Regions from separate parts of the Homo sapiens genome. Here regions 1 and 3 are each linked to region 2. The links are contacts of gene promoters, found by promoter capture Hi-C in blood cells and fetal thymus (Javierre and others, 2016). All regions are on one chromosome and are shown on one strand. The core of a region is centred on a gene start or on the middle of the fragment in contact, and the rest is flanking DNA. Distances in the headings are between cores, read along the strand shown.

The links. Contacts are between HindIII fragments. The CHiCAGO score rates a contact against its expected background, and 5 or more counts as called.
Region 1: a fragment that was not itself captured here is called in contact with the fragment with the promoter of MED23 in region 2 in 5 of 17 cell types (total CD8 T cells, fetal thymus, monocytes and 2 more); the score reaches 7.8 in total CD8 T cells.
Region 3: a contact is called between a fragment that was not itself captured here and the fragment with the promoter of MED23 in region 2, in 4 of 17 cell types (naive CD8 T cells, naive CD4 T cells, fetal thymus and 1 more). The highest score is 7.9, in naive CD8 T cells.

What each region holds. Positions count from the first base shown.
Region 1 is chr6:130,875,146-130,880,098 of GRCh38, reverse strand. EPB41L2 (erythrocyte membrane protein band 4.1 like 2) reads left to right here. Exons shown (of 20, transcript NM_001431.4): 14 at 1,849-1,995. Among named protein-coding and RNA genes, the nearest start is that of SMLR1, 50 kb to the right of the region's middle. RefSeq lists enhancers at 1,125-1,294, 3,067-3,236. The HindIII fragment of the contact is 155 bases long and covers 2,312-2,466 here.
Region 2 is chr6:131,625,176-131,629,775 of GRCh38, reverse strand. MED23 (mediator complex subunit 23) reads left to right here and starts at 1,534. Exons shown (of 29, transcript NM_004830.4): 1 at 1,534-1,765; 2 at 2,104-2,135; 3 at 2,293-2,380. The coding sequence starts at 1,727. RefSeq lists enhancers at 1,545-1,714, 1,845-1,894. The HindIII fragment of the contact is 7,493 bases long and covers 1-2,701 here.
Region 3 is chr6:130,891,745-130,896,453 of GRCh38, reverse strand. EPB41L2 (erythrocyte membrane protein band 4.1 like 2) reads left to right here. Exons shown (of 20, transcript NM_001431.4): 9 at 1,335-1,487; 10 at 2,013-2,110. Among named protein-coding and RNA genes, the nearest start is that of SMLR1, 67 kb to the right of the region's middle. The HindIII fragment of the contact is 9,496 bases long and covers 1-4,709 here.

The DNA.
Region 1 (4,953 bases), core at 1,140-3,639, 750 kb after region 2:
CTGCTGTGGACGGGAGGTCACGCCTAGGCTGGCTGGCAATGTTCTTCAAGCACGGTGCATGCAGTGCATGGGGGAATTCAGCTCGGGAGTGCATGTTACCAGCCTGACGGTGTTCCTTTCAAGTGGCTTAGGCAGGACTGTATCTACTAGAAGTTCTCAAAGTGACAAGTGGGAAAAAAAAGTTTAGTCAAATGAATCAAGTTTTTATCCAGTACTCTTGAAGTTGTTCTACAAGTAAACCTATTCTCTCCTAAAGGGTTAACTCTAGGGCATCAACCTGAGGTAACACAATCTCATCCTTAATATGTATTAACTAGAACAGAGATTTGTTTATTGATCTGGCATTAAATCATGTGACTCTTGATCTTGATCTGTGCCCACTTTTTTTGTTTTTTTTGGTTAAAATCCATGATTGGGAATGTGGTCCACTTTCAGTATTCTGTTTGAGAATATGCTAATTAAAGAAATTATTTTAATTAGAAAGAACAAGCAAAAGTGAGAGAGAAGGAAAGGAGAAAAAGAAAGCCCAATCACCCAATTATGAATGTAAAGTGTAAAATATGTTCCCCGTGTCACGTGAGAACATTTTTTTTTCCCTTCTTATTTTACAGTAGTATGTGGCAATGTATTCAATGGAGAACTGCAGCTCTCAGTAATCTGACTAATCTGTTTGGTTGCTTTTGGCAGCTTGGTAACTGATGGAAATGTATTTTTGCTTAACTTACTAAAATGCTGTACAGTGTAATAAGTAACATTGCTTTGAACCAATGCAAGAAATGTGCCTGATCTCAAGCCACAGTCATTTTTCCATGCCATGCAAAGATTTTTAGATTTTCATGAGTTTTTGCAAATGGCTATAGAAGCTCATAGATGAGCTACTATGCTTGTGCATGAATATGGAATATCTAATTTTATTGGTTGCATGACCTGTTCCTTAAAGTGGGATGAAAGCTATAATCCACAGGTGGCCCTATGATTTTTGAAATATAAATAAATATTTAAAATTTGGTTAAAACAAATACTATTTATGAGAGCCAGTCGAAAAAAATTCCACAAATACCATTTATCAGGGCCTGCTCCCATGAAAATGGACCTGGTAGTTTTTCTTGTATATTTGTCTGTATAAGGACGATCTGGCAGTTGCGGAGGCTAGACCCCACTTTTGTGCTTGGCAAGTACATGAGACCAGTCTGTGGTTTATTTATTCTATAAAGAGGCTAAACAGAAGCAGCCTCTGGAAGCAGTAATTTTTATTCCTTAAGAATTAAAAGCCATCACTGGAATTTCCTGAAAACAAACAAACAAACAAAAAACCTTGGCTTTTCCAGCTGGGGGTTGATCCTGGTCTGGCTTTTTCTTCCAGCCAGTGTGCTTCTGAGTCTCTACCTTCCTCTATTTTGTACTTGATTTCCTATATTCACAGAATGCAATTTTAGGAGTAGTCCTAATCAGAAAGGTAAATTTGCTGGAACAAAGTCATAGTCTGAGTTTCAAATCCAGGTACTGGAAGGAAGTGTTATTAGCCATTTTGATGATCAGTTCCATGTCATCTTTCTGATAATGTAAATAATTATTCCTTTAAAAATCCTAAATAGAGAAGAAATCAGAACCCTTTAAAATGTAAATCATTGAAGAAGTACGCATTGACTTTATTTTCAAATTTTGATGAATTCATGAACTTACTCATAGATAATAATATGGCTTTAGAGACTTGGCATTTTTCTTGCTTTACTATGGTTTTTTTTTTAATCGTAAGTTTGCTTTGTCTTATTTTTTGGTTTTATTTTTGTCCTACTGGGTTTTTTCCTTTTGGATTTTTCCCCCCTTTGTTACGTTACATATTGCTAGGAACTGGATAAGGCCCAGGAGGACATACTGAAACATCAGGCTAGCATTAGTGAACTCAAGCGCAATTTTATGGAATCCACACCTGAGCCGCGCCCTAATGAATGGGAAAAACGACGTATCACACCTCTGTCCCTACAGACACAAGGGGTATGTCATTAGCTATTTGTTGGCTCTGTCTCACTTCAGTTGCTCAATAAAACTTAAATTGTTAATCTCTATGTTGAGTCTAGGGAAGTTACAAAATGTTCCCATTTAATTATTTTTATGTAATTACTAACAATTTTGTAAATACTAAATATTAACAATGTAATAGTTATTGGCCTAGTTCTTAGGTAAATTGCATGAGTTTCAAAATACTTTTGAAATAGTTTTAGGATAATTTCACTATTTTACTCAGGTAAATTGTAGTAATGAATTGTTATATAGGACAATTTAGAAACTAACATACTGTATTTAATAAGCTTTTTAGTTACTGATATCTGAAATAGGGACATTTACTTAGTATAAATAATTAATAAATAAAGAAATATAGGCTATCTTTAGAGTGGTTTAAAGTTATTACTGTGAGGAAAATGAGTTTAACTTAGCTTTAAAGACCGATGAGCCCTGTTGAAAGCTTGAAAAATATTATATATAATATGACTTAGTATTGAAACTTCCTTATAATGAAATGTTAGAATTGTGTTTTAAAAACGTTTTTTCAATCATAACATTTCTCCTCACTTACTCTATTTCTTTTCATGGTTTACTTCTCCCCACCACTGATATGAGTACATATTGCCTTCAGGATATATTCTCAATACATTTCTCCATTCATTGTCATCCACATCTGTGCCTCTAGGATTCTTCCAAATCCCTCCTGTTATTGACCAAGAACTTCCATGGGCTCGTTTATCATACTTGAGCGGACAGTGATCATACTATATTTAATCTGTAGTTTAAAAAATGGTATAAAGATGTTACCCTACAATTTCATCTTTTTCCTTTCAGCATCTAGTCTGGCTTGAATGTTGCCAAATTGTAGACATTGATTTAGATATTCTAGTGCTATTTTTATTCACCTTTCCTTAAAAAGAAAAGCTGTTAGTTGCTTTAAATTTCTAAGTTTGTGCCATTGAAAAAGAAAGCTCTTTAAGAACAGATGAGCAAAAAGAATTGCTGAACTGAAACACAGAACTTTTGAAAATATTAAGACATGCTTGGTAGAGTCTTATGAAGTTGAATACAACTTCAGTTCTTAGTTTCAGATTTTTCTGAAGATGATAAAAAATGTCAATTTCAGCAGTCTATTCCAGAATGTTGTGTTTTCTGGAGAAAGGGTCTGATGCCATGCCAAGGTTTTCACCTTCCATTATGTGCCACTTCTCCTGGTGTGTGTCATTGACCCACACTGGGTCAGTATTTTGTGTTTGTGTTGCTATAGGTGTAATGTATGTGTCTTATTTGTTGATTATGTCTATTGTTTAAAACAATAGAGAAAAGGAGACCATCTTTTCAAGGATATTTTATCCGTGAAGGAGAAGTACCTGATGCCGACAATATGGACAGTTGAAGAAAAAGCTCAGGAGACGGACAAGGTGTTCACCTTGCACCCTTGGATCTACTCTTGCTTTTTCCCCCTTTCCTTTTGTTTCTATCCACAGCCATAAGATTTCTTTTTTCCTGTGTGTCATACTAAAATTTTTTTGAAATGATTTTTGAGCATTTAAAAAGTTAAATCCCCTGTGTATAGAAGCATAGGATTGTTGGATGAGAAATACCATATTGCAGAAGCACTTGAAAAGTCAAAATTTGAAATACAGAAACATCAACCAATTTAGGTGATAACTGATTCCTAATTTGATGTATGTGGCTGACAGTTGGGAAACTGATTTCATGTGAAAGTGCACTGTTTGTACAATACTTATGCATGTCGTGTTGTTAAAATAACCACTTATGTGCCTTAGATGATGAGTTTACTAATTACATATGGAAACCTTTTGAGTTTTCACTTGTAAGATTTTTAATGGGAACAAAGATTTTGATGCACCATAGCAGCCCCTCACCTCTCTCTCTGCTCCTGCATGTGTGACATTTCTGACACTGGTGAGGAAGTTCACTTTCCATTGCTTTTACATCCTCATTCTTCTCTTTCTACTGATTTTACTTAGCCAGGTGGTCAGTCTGTTATTTGCTGGGACTGGAGAGCTTGGAGTCTAGTGGAGGAGACATGGAAATAGTTAATTAGAAAAGTTTCTTTTTTTTCTTTCTTCTTTTTTTTTTTTTTGAGATGCACTCTTGCACATTCGCCCGGGCTGGAGTGCAATGGCATGATCTTGGCTCACTGCAACCTCCATCTCCTGGGTTCAAGCAACTTTCCTGTTTAGCTGGGATTACAGGTGCCTGCTACCAAGTCTGGCTAATTTTTTTGTGTTTTTAGTTGAGACGGGGTTTCACTATGTTGACCAGACTGGTCTTGACTCCTGACCACGTGATTTGCCCTTCTTGGTCTCCCAAAGTGCTAGGATTACAGGCGTGAGCCACCACACCCGGCTGGTGATTAGAAAATTTTCTAATTGGTACTTGGAAAGTTTCAGACACTAGGAAGTAAATGTTAAGAAGGTGAAATACAATGTTGTGTTAGGAGGGGATTAGGAAGACCGTTTTGTCATTGTGGTCAGGAGGAGATGACATTTGAGTTGAAACCTTAATGATAACCAGGTGGACATGTGAAAATGTATCCACGTGTAAGGACGAGCCACAACACAGGAACTGAAAGACCAAATGACAGGGGCTTGGTGAGCAAGGGGGAGCACGAAGGAAGGAAAATTCAAAGAGGTTAGACCCTAGGTCATGTCACGATCTTAAAGGCCATGCTAACAGTTTGGAATTGTACAATAAGAATGATGGGAAAGCATTGGAGAGTTTGAAGGTGAGTAGTGGCAGAATCCCACCTGTTTCTGACAGAAGTCCCCCTGGCACTGGATGAGGAATAGATTATAGGGGCTGTGAATGAGAACAGAGATTATTAATAAGGAAACAGTGATTCCCTTCCACAAAGTAGATTCTGTTAATTGGTAGAGAGTATTCATCAGAACACGTAGCAGGGTTGGGAAAGGAGGCAAA
Region 2 (4,600 bases), core at 285-2,784:
GATTCTCCAAGAAACAATGTCCCCAGAACACACTATAAAGATGCTCAAAGTTGATAAGCCCTGCCCAGCTGCTCAGAGTTTCCAGTTGGCTCTTTAGTCCCCCACTCTAAATCCTGATAGGACAAGGATGGAACAAGAAGCCTGAATTCTCAGCTTTCAGTTTGCTCAGACTCAAATTACCCCCCAGTTTATAGTATGCTGTTCACAGCAATCTAAGCAAACTCCCCTAGGTATCTTTCTAAATTCCTTTCTGTAGAAAAATTTGTATTTCCTCCTTTTCTCCCTGGCACTTTATTAGCATCACTAGTATTGCACATATCACACTCTATTATGGTTTAAAATGTCTATGTCTTCAACTAAGCTAAAGCTCTTTAGAGTAGATACATGGGCCCTAACCTGACTGATGTCCTTCTAGGAAGAGAAAATTACGACACAGACATGTACAAAGGGAAGACCATGTGAAGACACAAGGAGAAGAAGGTCATCTACAAGCCAAGGACAGAGGCCTCTATAGAAACTAACCCTATCAACCTCAACCTCAGACTTCCAGCCTCCAGAATTACAAGAAAAGAAATTTCTGTTGTTTAAGCCACCCAGTCTGTGGTATTTTGTTATGGCAACCCTAGCAAACAATACCCTAAGCCTAACTTTTCAAGTTTTTCTCCAGCAGGAAATCTGAATTATTTCTTTTCAGCTTTTAGTAGCTATTGTGTGGACAACATGGTTGCATGTGCATATTAAAGTTGTTAGAAAACTAAATTTATGCCAGGTCAGACACTTGTATAACAAAACCATGAATGGGGAGTCATCAGCTCATCACTTAGCAGCTACAAAGGAGTAGTTCATGCTTAGCAGTTTGTGGCATTTCACAACCGTCAAAGAAGTGAAAGGCCTTTGGATGTCTATGACTCTCATCAACAATTTTCTTTATGAGGCAAAGAAAGCTGATCATTCAAGACATAACAGATGTTTTAGGGGTTGGTGATGATGGTGGCATATGAAGAAAAACACATACTCTCAACAATATAATAGCAAATAGAATCTAGCAATATATTAAAAAGGATAATATATTATGACCAAGTAGCATTTATACCATAGAAGCAAAATTGGTTTGGCATTCAAAAGTCAATCAATTACATTTGCACTGAGGTTATCATAGCTGAGAAGACACCGTCTCTGTGGCTTCAGCTCCTGGCTGCAGGCCGCTGATGGAGGTCCAGAAGGTCAGCTGCTCACAGACATCAACTTGGTGTCGGCTGCGGCTCCAGCATTTTCCGCAGGCTGCAGCTTCTGGGTTCCAAACTTTTCATTTCTCAGTCTGCAAGCGGGTTAGCCCCGAACAGGAAGCAACTCCTTCTCCAGCCGGGAGGTGGCGGCCTGCGGTCGACGATGCCTCCGGGGTCCTTGGGCTCAAGGTTCCGTTTGGGGGCGCTCTCGTCCGGCTTGCGGGCCGCCCTTCTCCACAGACGGAACCTTCTGGTGGCGCCGCTGGTTTCTGCGGGGTTTGCAAACGGCGCGTACCGGGCCCTTCCCGTCTTCCGTACAGGTTCCTGCTGTTGGCTGGGCTCGGGAGGGAACGCTCCAGGTAAAGCGCTGGGGGAGGAAGCGACGCCGAGGAGCTACGGTTTCCTCCAGAGGTCTCCGCCCCTCTGCCCCTATATTCCCAGAGCTCGAGTCTGATCCGGGCCTTGCCGGGCACCCTGGAAAGGCGGGGGTGATAGTACAGATGGAGACGCAACTGCAGAGCATTTTCGAAGAGGTGGTGGTGAGTGCAGCTGCCGGCCATCCAGGACTACGGCTTGGGGACGGGGAGACGCGGGGGCAGCCGACCAAGGAAACTGGCCTGGGCAACCTCCTCTCACGCCTCCCTTTTTATTCCCTTGTTTTGACACCGAGGTTGTATGCGGGGAAGTTTAGTGATTCTCAAACTGCTGTCAAGTTCATTGTATCCTTTGAAATCGATACAGTGACAGGCCAGACAGGTATTGATAGTTTCAGAGCTGATTAAGGTGACTTGCCCTGTGTTACATTGTAATACTTGGCTAAGGGAGGCGCCTTTTTAAAATTAACATTGTTTACATTTTGTTTTTTTTTTTTTTACAGAAAACGGAAGTTATAGAAGAGGCTTTTCCTGGGTGAGTGTATGCGTGGCAGAGTTTTGTGTTTTTATGTGATTGTGTCTGTCAGATTTTACTTAGTTTCGTGTTGGAAGGTTATAAGATCCACTATTCTGATTGTGTGTAATTACCTTTTTAAAACGAATGACAAATAATGTAATTTTTATTTTTTTAGCATGTTTATGGATACTCCTGAAGATGAGAAAACAAAACTAATTAGCTGTTTGGGGGCCTTCAGACAGTTTTGGGGTGGTCTTTCTCAGGTGAGCGCTTCATTTTTAATACATTCAGCTGATGATTTTTGGCCTCTTCTTTTTTTTTTTTTTTTTCTTTTAACATTTACTTTCATGCTGCTCTTAAGATCTTCCTGAGAAGGGAGAAATAAAATTGTTATCATTTTTTATTCTGGCTTCCATTTGTTTTAATTTGTATATTTCAGTGGAAAACCTGTGTTGAGAAGTCAAGTTGATACTGCACAGTGTGAGATGTTTAAAAAAAAAAACCTCCCCTATGTTAGATTAATTGAGATCATTTTCATCCTATTCGGATTTATTTGGTACACTTGAAAACAGATATGTTAAGCTTTACTTGTCAAGGATACAAATTCCATTTTTCTGCTAAATAAAGGAATTGGCACAGCATTGATACAAAGATGCTACAATAGGAATACCAAGATTCTATAATAAGGATAGGAAAATATTATAGTAAAAATGAGGAGACAAACTGTAAAAGTAACAAAGAACAGCTACCAGAAAATGTATCCGTGAAAAAGACAAAAATGTGTCATCCTCGAAGAGCTCACATTGCAGTAGTGCCTTACCTTCTCATGGTACACTATAGGTAGGGAAATGAGAACTGTTTGCGTGTCAGCCACTGGTGATAAGATTTGCCACTCAGACATGGATCATATAATGCCAATACAGTCATGTTTTAACCTTTTTGTTTAGTTGTTTTCTAATAGGTAATACATTTATATGGTTCAAAATGCACAGGTATAAAAGGGTGGATCCAATAACTAGTCTCTTTCTCTTCTCTTACCTGTTATTTTTTCTGTCTGTAGCCAATATCCTCAGGTTATGTTTTCTTCTAGAAGTATTTTATGCATATAGAAACACTTTTATAGCATGATCATATACCATGTACACTGTTCATTAATTAGCACTTTTTTTCTCCTAATAATAATCTACAGGTAATTCCCTATCAGTCCAAGCGTTACTTGTTCCTTCCTTTCTTACTTTTTTTTTTAAATAGCAGCATAATATTCCATTGTATGGCTGTACCTTCCTCCTTTTAACCAATCTTCTACTGTCTTCTAAGTTTCTTCTTACTTTTTCTAATTTAACCAATGCTGTGATGAATAATATTATGCATGAAAAATAGGATAAATTCCTAGAAATAGTATTGCTGAGTCAAAAGCCTTATCAGTTTGTAATTTTTATAGAAATTATTAAATTTTCCATAAGGGTTATACTAGTTTATGCTTCCACCAGCAGTGTTTGAGATTATCTTTTTCTTTTCTTTTTTTTTTTTTTTTTTGGAGACAGAGTCTCACTCTGTCGCCCAGGCTAGAGTGCAGTGGCGTGATCTTGGCTCACTGCAACCTCTGCCTCTCGGGTTCACGCCGTTCTCCTGCCTCAGCCTCCCGAGTAGCTGGGACTACAGGCACCTGCTATCACGCCCGGCTCATTTTTTGTATTTTTAGTAGAGACGGGGTTTCATCGTGTTAGCCAGGTTGGTCTCGATCTCCCGACCTCATGATCTGCCCACCTCGGCCTCCCAAAGTGCTGGGATTACAGGCATGAGCCACCGCGCCCGGCTGAGAGTATCTTTTTCTTATAACCTCACAATAGAGTGTTAAGCTTTTTGATCTTTGCCAATCAAAAACATGAGAAATTTTATCTCAGTATAATTTTATTTTGCATTTCTCTCAGTGATGTTGAATATCTTTCCAAAATTTAAAAAAAAATTCATTAAACACTTTATGAATTATGATGTGGCCCTCTAATGGAGAGACCAGGAAGAAAATAGGTATTTCCAAATCATTGTTATATGTGCCACAATAGAAGTATGTATGAGAACAGTGGTTGTGGAGAGAAGCAGAACATTATAGGCTCTTTTTGGAGATAATCCTAGAAGACAAACTTTGATACGGGCACAACATTTTGACATCGTATTTAAAGTTTTGCCAGTCTAGAAATGTGACATGTCATTGGATTCATAATGGGCTCTTGTTTGGGATCTTAGGGATTGGATTCACACCTAATTCTCCTAAGCCTGATACATACTGATCCATAATGAATTTTACCCCCAGTGACAGTAATATTTATATATGCCATAAAGGGCACTGTTTACAATGCCTTACAACAATCTGTGTTAAGAGTTTTCTATTGACCGTTAATATGTTAACTAATTAATTACTACTTTTGAAGTTCCCATGTAATAAAAATGGTAGCATTTTATCTATGTAATTACAAAATGTTAAG
Region 3 (4,709 bases), core at 892-3,391, 730 kb after region 2:
GCTCCCGGTGGCCATGGGCAGTGATGGTTTTGGCAAACACACCATGGGGTCTGGTGCCAAGTTGCTTGGGCACCTGTGCCTGATTCACCCCAGCTTTTTAGTCTATTCCTAGAGAGAGTTGTGGCTGCCAAGATAAGGGTGAGTAAAGCAATTGATTGGATTTTTTAAAATGGCTCAAGTTGGTCTAATGTAATTTTATTTGTATATATGAATTACTCAAGTGTCACAGCAGAGAAAGCAACTGGCATCAATTAGCTAATACTATACTTTTATTTATAAAAAACTGATTTAAATGGTATCAAAATGTTCTGAGTAATAAGATAGACAAAATGTCCTTTTATTAAATTGGGAGTTAGACTAAATATGGGGTTTGTTGCAACATTTTTTGTGAGAATTTGTTTCGTATTGTTTGTGATTTCTGAAAATGTGAATGTCTTTGAGCGGTAGTCTTCAATTTTACATATGTTGAATGAGAGCCAGCTCTCCTCTTAGAGATAAACAATAATTTGTATGTTTTGAATACATGCATCTTAGATCTTCACTACTTGAAATGTGAGGAGACAGGTTTTCACTTTTGCCTGTAAATTTGTTTGGTTTTTAAAACATAATTTAGGCCTGTGATTATTCTAGATTGTCATCGATTCCAGATTAAAGCTCTAGGGAAAGAAAACTATTAATAACTTCAAGAATAGTCTGCAGTCCTTTGAAACGTGCCAGCCAAAGGAATGCCTAATGAGAACTGGATGTCAGCATTCTAAGTTAATGAAAAACTGCTTGAAAGAATTCAGAGATTTCAGCACTGTCAGCCTGGAAGAGAAATTATCTGCAAGGGATTGGTGTTTTGCAAAATATTGGCATAATTTTAAGAGCTATTAGCTAGGGTAATCCATCTGAGGTAAATGCACCTAAAGGAAAATGGTTGAACACATCTTAGGGTAGGCCAACAGACTGTCCCTGAGGCTGGACTAGCCTACGGGAAAAGCTCATTTTATTTCCCGTATCTTCAGGATCTCTAGTTCTGCTTCCTTTCTTCTCTGTTAGCTCCTACAGTGGAGCTTGAGAACATATGCATTACGCCTTTTGAAGGACACTGTGTCTTATGGTCATGTTGCCGTAACTCTTCGGCAAATCACACCTGATCCCTGAAGATGAATAAATTTAACATGTATGTGTGTGCGCCATAGTTTTCATTAACGTGCGTACTTGTCACTAAACTTTAAATACAAACCTGTTAAACTGTCATTCCTGATCATGATTTGAGGGAGCTAATTAGCTTCTTGATTTGTGTAACTTTCACAGCTCTTAACCATGGTTAATTGGGTTATGCTTGGCAGGACTCAGAAGGTGTGGACATCAAGCTGGGCGTGTGTGCTAATGGACTTCTCATTTACAAAGACAGACTGCGAATCAATCGTTTTGCTTGGCCGAAAATCTTAAAAATTTCCTATAAACGCAGTAACTTCTACATTAAAGTCAGACCGGCAGAGGTAAGCCAAGACATTTCTAATCAGTTGTTGTTAGTCGGCCTGTTTACGACCATGAATTTAAAAATTCTTTTCTATTAATTCTAAAATTTTAAGAAAATAAACTATTTATTCTTCCATTGTAAAAGGTCAGGGTTCTTAATGGTAAAATTGCAGTATATATACGTCTGGTCTGTTTTTAAAAAAAGCAACCATCACGCTTTTTACAAAAAAGAAAATGTGATAAGGTGTGGGCTCGTTTTTTCTTGTTGAATCAATTAAGTTGTGATCATTAGGAAAGCAATAAGATGAGTTTTAGTGAACATTGAAGGATAGTTGGTTTATGTGAGCCGTTGTTACTTGCTTTTTGTAGAAAATAGTATTGCAGTCTATGAAATTCATCTTTATATGATTATATTAGATATGCAATATTTACCTTTTTTGAGAAGAATAATTGCTTCTCACAGAAACATCTGAATGCATGCTTTTCAGTAACTTCTAGTCAGTTCTTAAGGAAATATGCTGATTTGTTTTACGGATTTATTCCAGCTGGAACAGTTTGAGAGTACCATTGGATTCAAACTGCCAAACCACCGGGCAGCGAAAAGACTATGGAAAGTGTGCGTGGAGCATCATACTTTCTACAGGTAATTTTAGGAAAACAGCTCGGAAGCCGGGCATGATCGCACATGCCTGTAATTCCACTGACTCAGGAGGCAGAGGTGGGAGGATCACTTGACCCCAGGAGTTTGAGACCAGCCTGGGGAACATACTGAGACTCCATCTCTCTTTTTTTCTAAGAAAGAAAGAAAACAGCTTGGTATTGCTTTTAGTAACCTCTGTGAATTAGGAGGTGGTAGTGGTGGGGAATGTGGCAGATGCATTAACCCACTGTCTTTGAACTCTTTTCTCCCCTCCTTGCCTCATCTCCTTTGTCTGCAGTCCCTCCCAGGTCCATTTCTGTCCATGCATTGTCATTTATAACTGAGCTGCCCCTGCAGCTGTCTAGAGCTCCACTTTCTGACTCTAACCACCTTTCCTTCCACCACAGCCACACTGCCTCATGCCTGCTACCATTCTTCTTTCCACTATCCCTCCTCTTAGGTTTCACTTCGATATTCTCATCAGCTGCCTCCTGACTTAACTTCTTTCCCAAACCAACTTGAACCCTATGGTCTGACTGCTTTGTCAGGAACGTTCTGACCCCCTCAAACTACTCTCCTCTTTGCACATTTACCTTCTCTGTCTGCTAGTCCTGGATTAGTCCTGTGTCCTGACCTCACCAGTTTTGGACCTGTGCTGTCCAAGTGCTACCTTAAAAATAGTACAACCATTGTGACACATGCAGTTACTCTATATAACAAAAAATAGCACAACTCTATGGATTAGTGCTATTACAGATAAATAATTTCCAGCATGAGCTGGATCCTCAGTGCTGCTAGGCAAGCAATTTGTCTTTTGACTTCCTTTGCCACTCCAAATGCTCATGGTCCTCGTGAGTCCCTAGGCACCCCTGCTTCCTCTTCTGATGCCCTCCACTGTGTGGGTCACTGAAAGAAGAAGCTGTGCATGAGTGTTCTTGGTTTCATGCACCTTCCCTTCTTCCCTTTTGCCTTTAATGAAGCATCGCTCCTCTCTCCTCCCATTCATTCTTTCCCACTTCTCCTGTCTCAAGGAGGAGATAATCATTCCTCTGCTTTGATCCCTCATTTTGTGCCTCTTAAATTATCCTGCTTTGTAAATTATTTGTTCCCTAGTGGGTACCTTTAGGTTCTTTGGCCAATAAATATGTCCACATCTTGCTCTTTAAAAAACAACAACAAATATGTATATATGGTTATATAAGATTTTGTATATAAAATCTTTGATCATCTAACCATCTTTAGCTTGTATCTTGTCTCTTTTTATACTTTTCTTCAAGGACATGTTTTTTACATGTAGTTTGCTTATCTTTGTTTTCTCCGTTTCCTCAGTTTTCTCTCACTGCAGTTTAGCTAGCTGTGTATCTAGATCCTTCATCTTTAAGGTTTTTGCTCTGGACTTATGGTCTAATACTGTTCTACCAAATACGAGCTGTGTCACCGTGATACCAACCTCTCTGCTTCACTTCCATCATCCATATATGATAGTAATACTAGTATCTACCTCATAGGATTGTTTTGAAAATTAAATGAGATAACACACATGAAACAACTTAGAACCATTTCTGGCATATCATAAAATTTATCTTCACCATTATCATTATTCTTCGTTTGGTATCACAGTTTGCTATTTTTAATGTGAATTATCAGCTGGCACACATGATTCTTTCTTGACGTTAAATTGATAATATCTATTTTTCAAGACTAATATGTTAATTTTTGAGGAGAAATATAACTCATAAAATATGCTTGAATCCCTCAAGTTACACTGATCATATAAATCTTTGAAAACTTTATAATTTTTCTTGGTAGCCATAACAAATTTCTCCTCCAGACAACATGAGCCAGCTCATATAAAGCTAGTAGATGACATTTATGACACAGGTCCAAGCTGGGCAGACAACAGCTTTCCCTGTCACATAATGATAAAAAAAAAAAAAAAAAAAGCAATAATCTGTTCAGAAATGGCAAGTGCTAGCATTCATTGAACACTTATTAGAGTCAGACACAGAATTGATTGCTTTATATCGTGGTCTATTTCTCGCCCTAGGCAAGACAACTGATGCTTAGAGATCGGTGCCTGTGGAGGAGCACAGCAGCCAGGCATCTGAGCAGAGATGGGGACCGGGCTTCCTGATTCTGACACCTGTATTCCTCACCTCTGTGCTGTCCTCTTCTTGTATTCTTGTAGCAGGAGTTTCCGAGGTGCATTAGCTGTGCAAAGCCTCAGGCCTCCTCATTTTTGCTAATGTACCATGGACTCCAGTTTAAAAGTAGACCAATTTGCTCCTGCAAACTTTTGATATAATGGTTAACAAAAGCAGTTTTAAATTTTTAAACCTTGCATAACGCTGCTTACAAAGCTATATAAAAGAATATATCTAACACAAAGGGCCAGTCATACTTTGTCTATAGATTGCTTTGAATCAGGTCAGTGGAATTTATTCTGTTTCAGTTTATCATGAAAGGTACAAATGATTTCTTTAGAAAATTACGGTGGCTTGCAGATTGAAGCCATTAATCTGTAAACAGATCTATTAATTGATAGCCAATCAGCTAGATTGATACTAGTGGAATAAGAATGTAGTAATAAAACTGATATGGC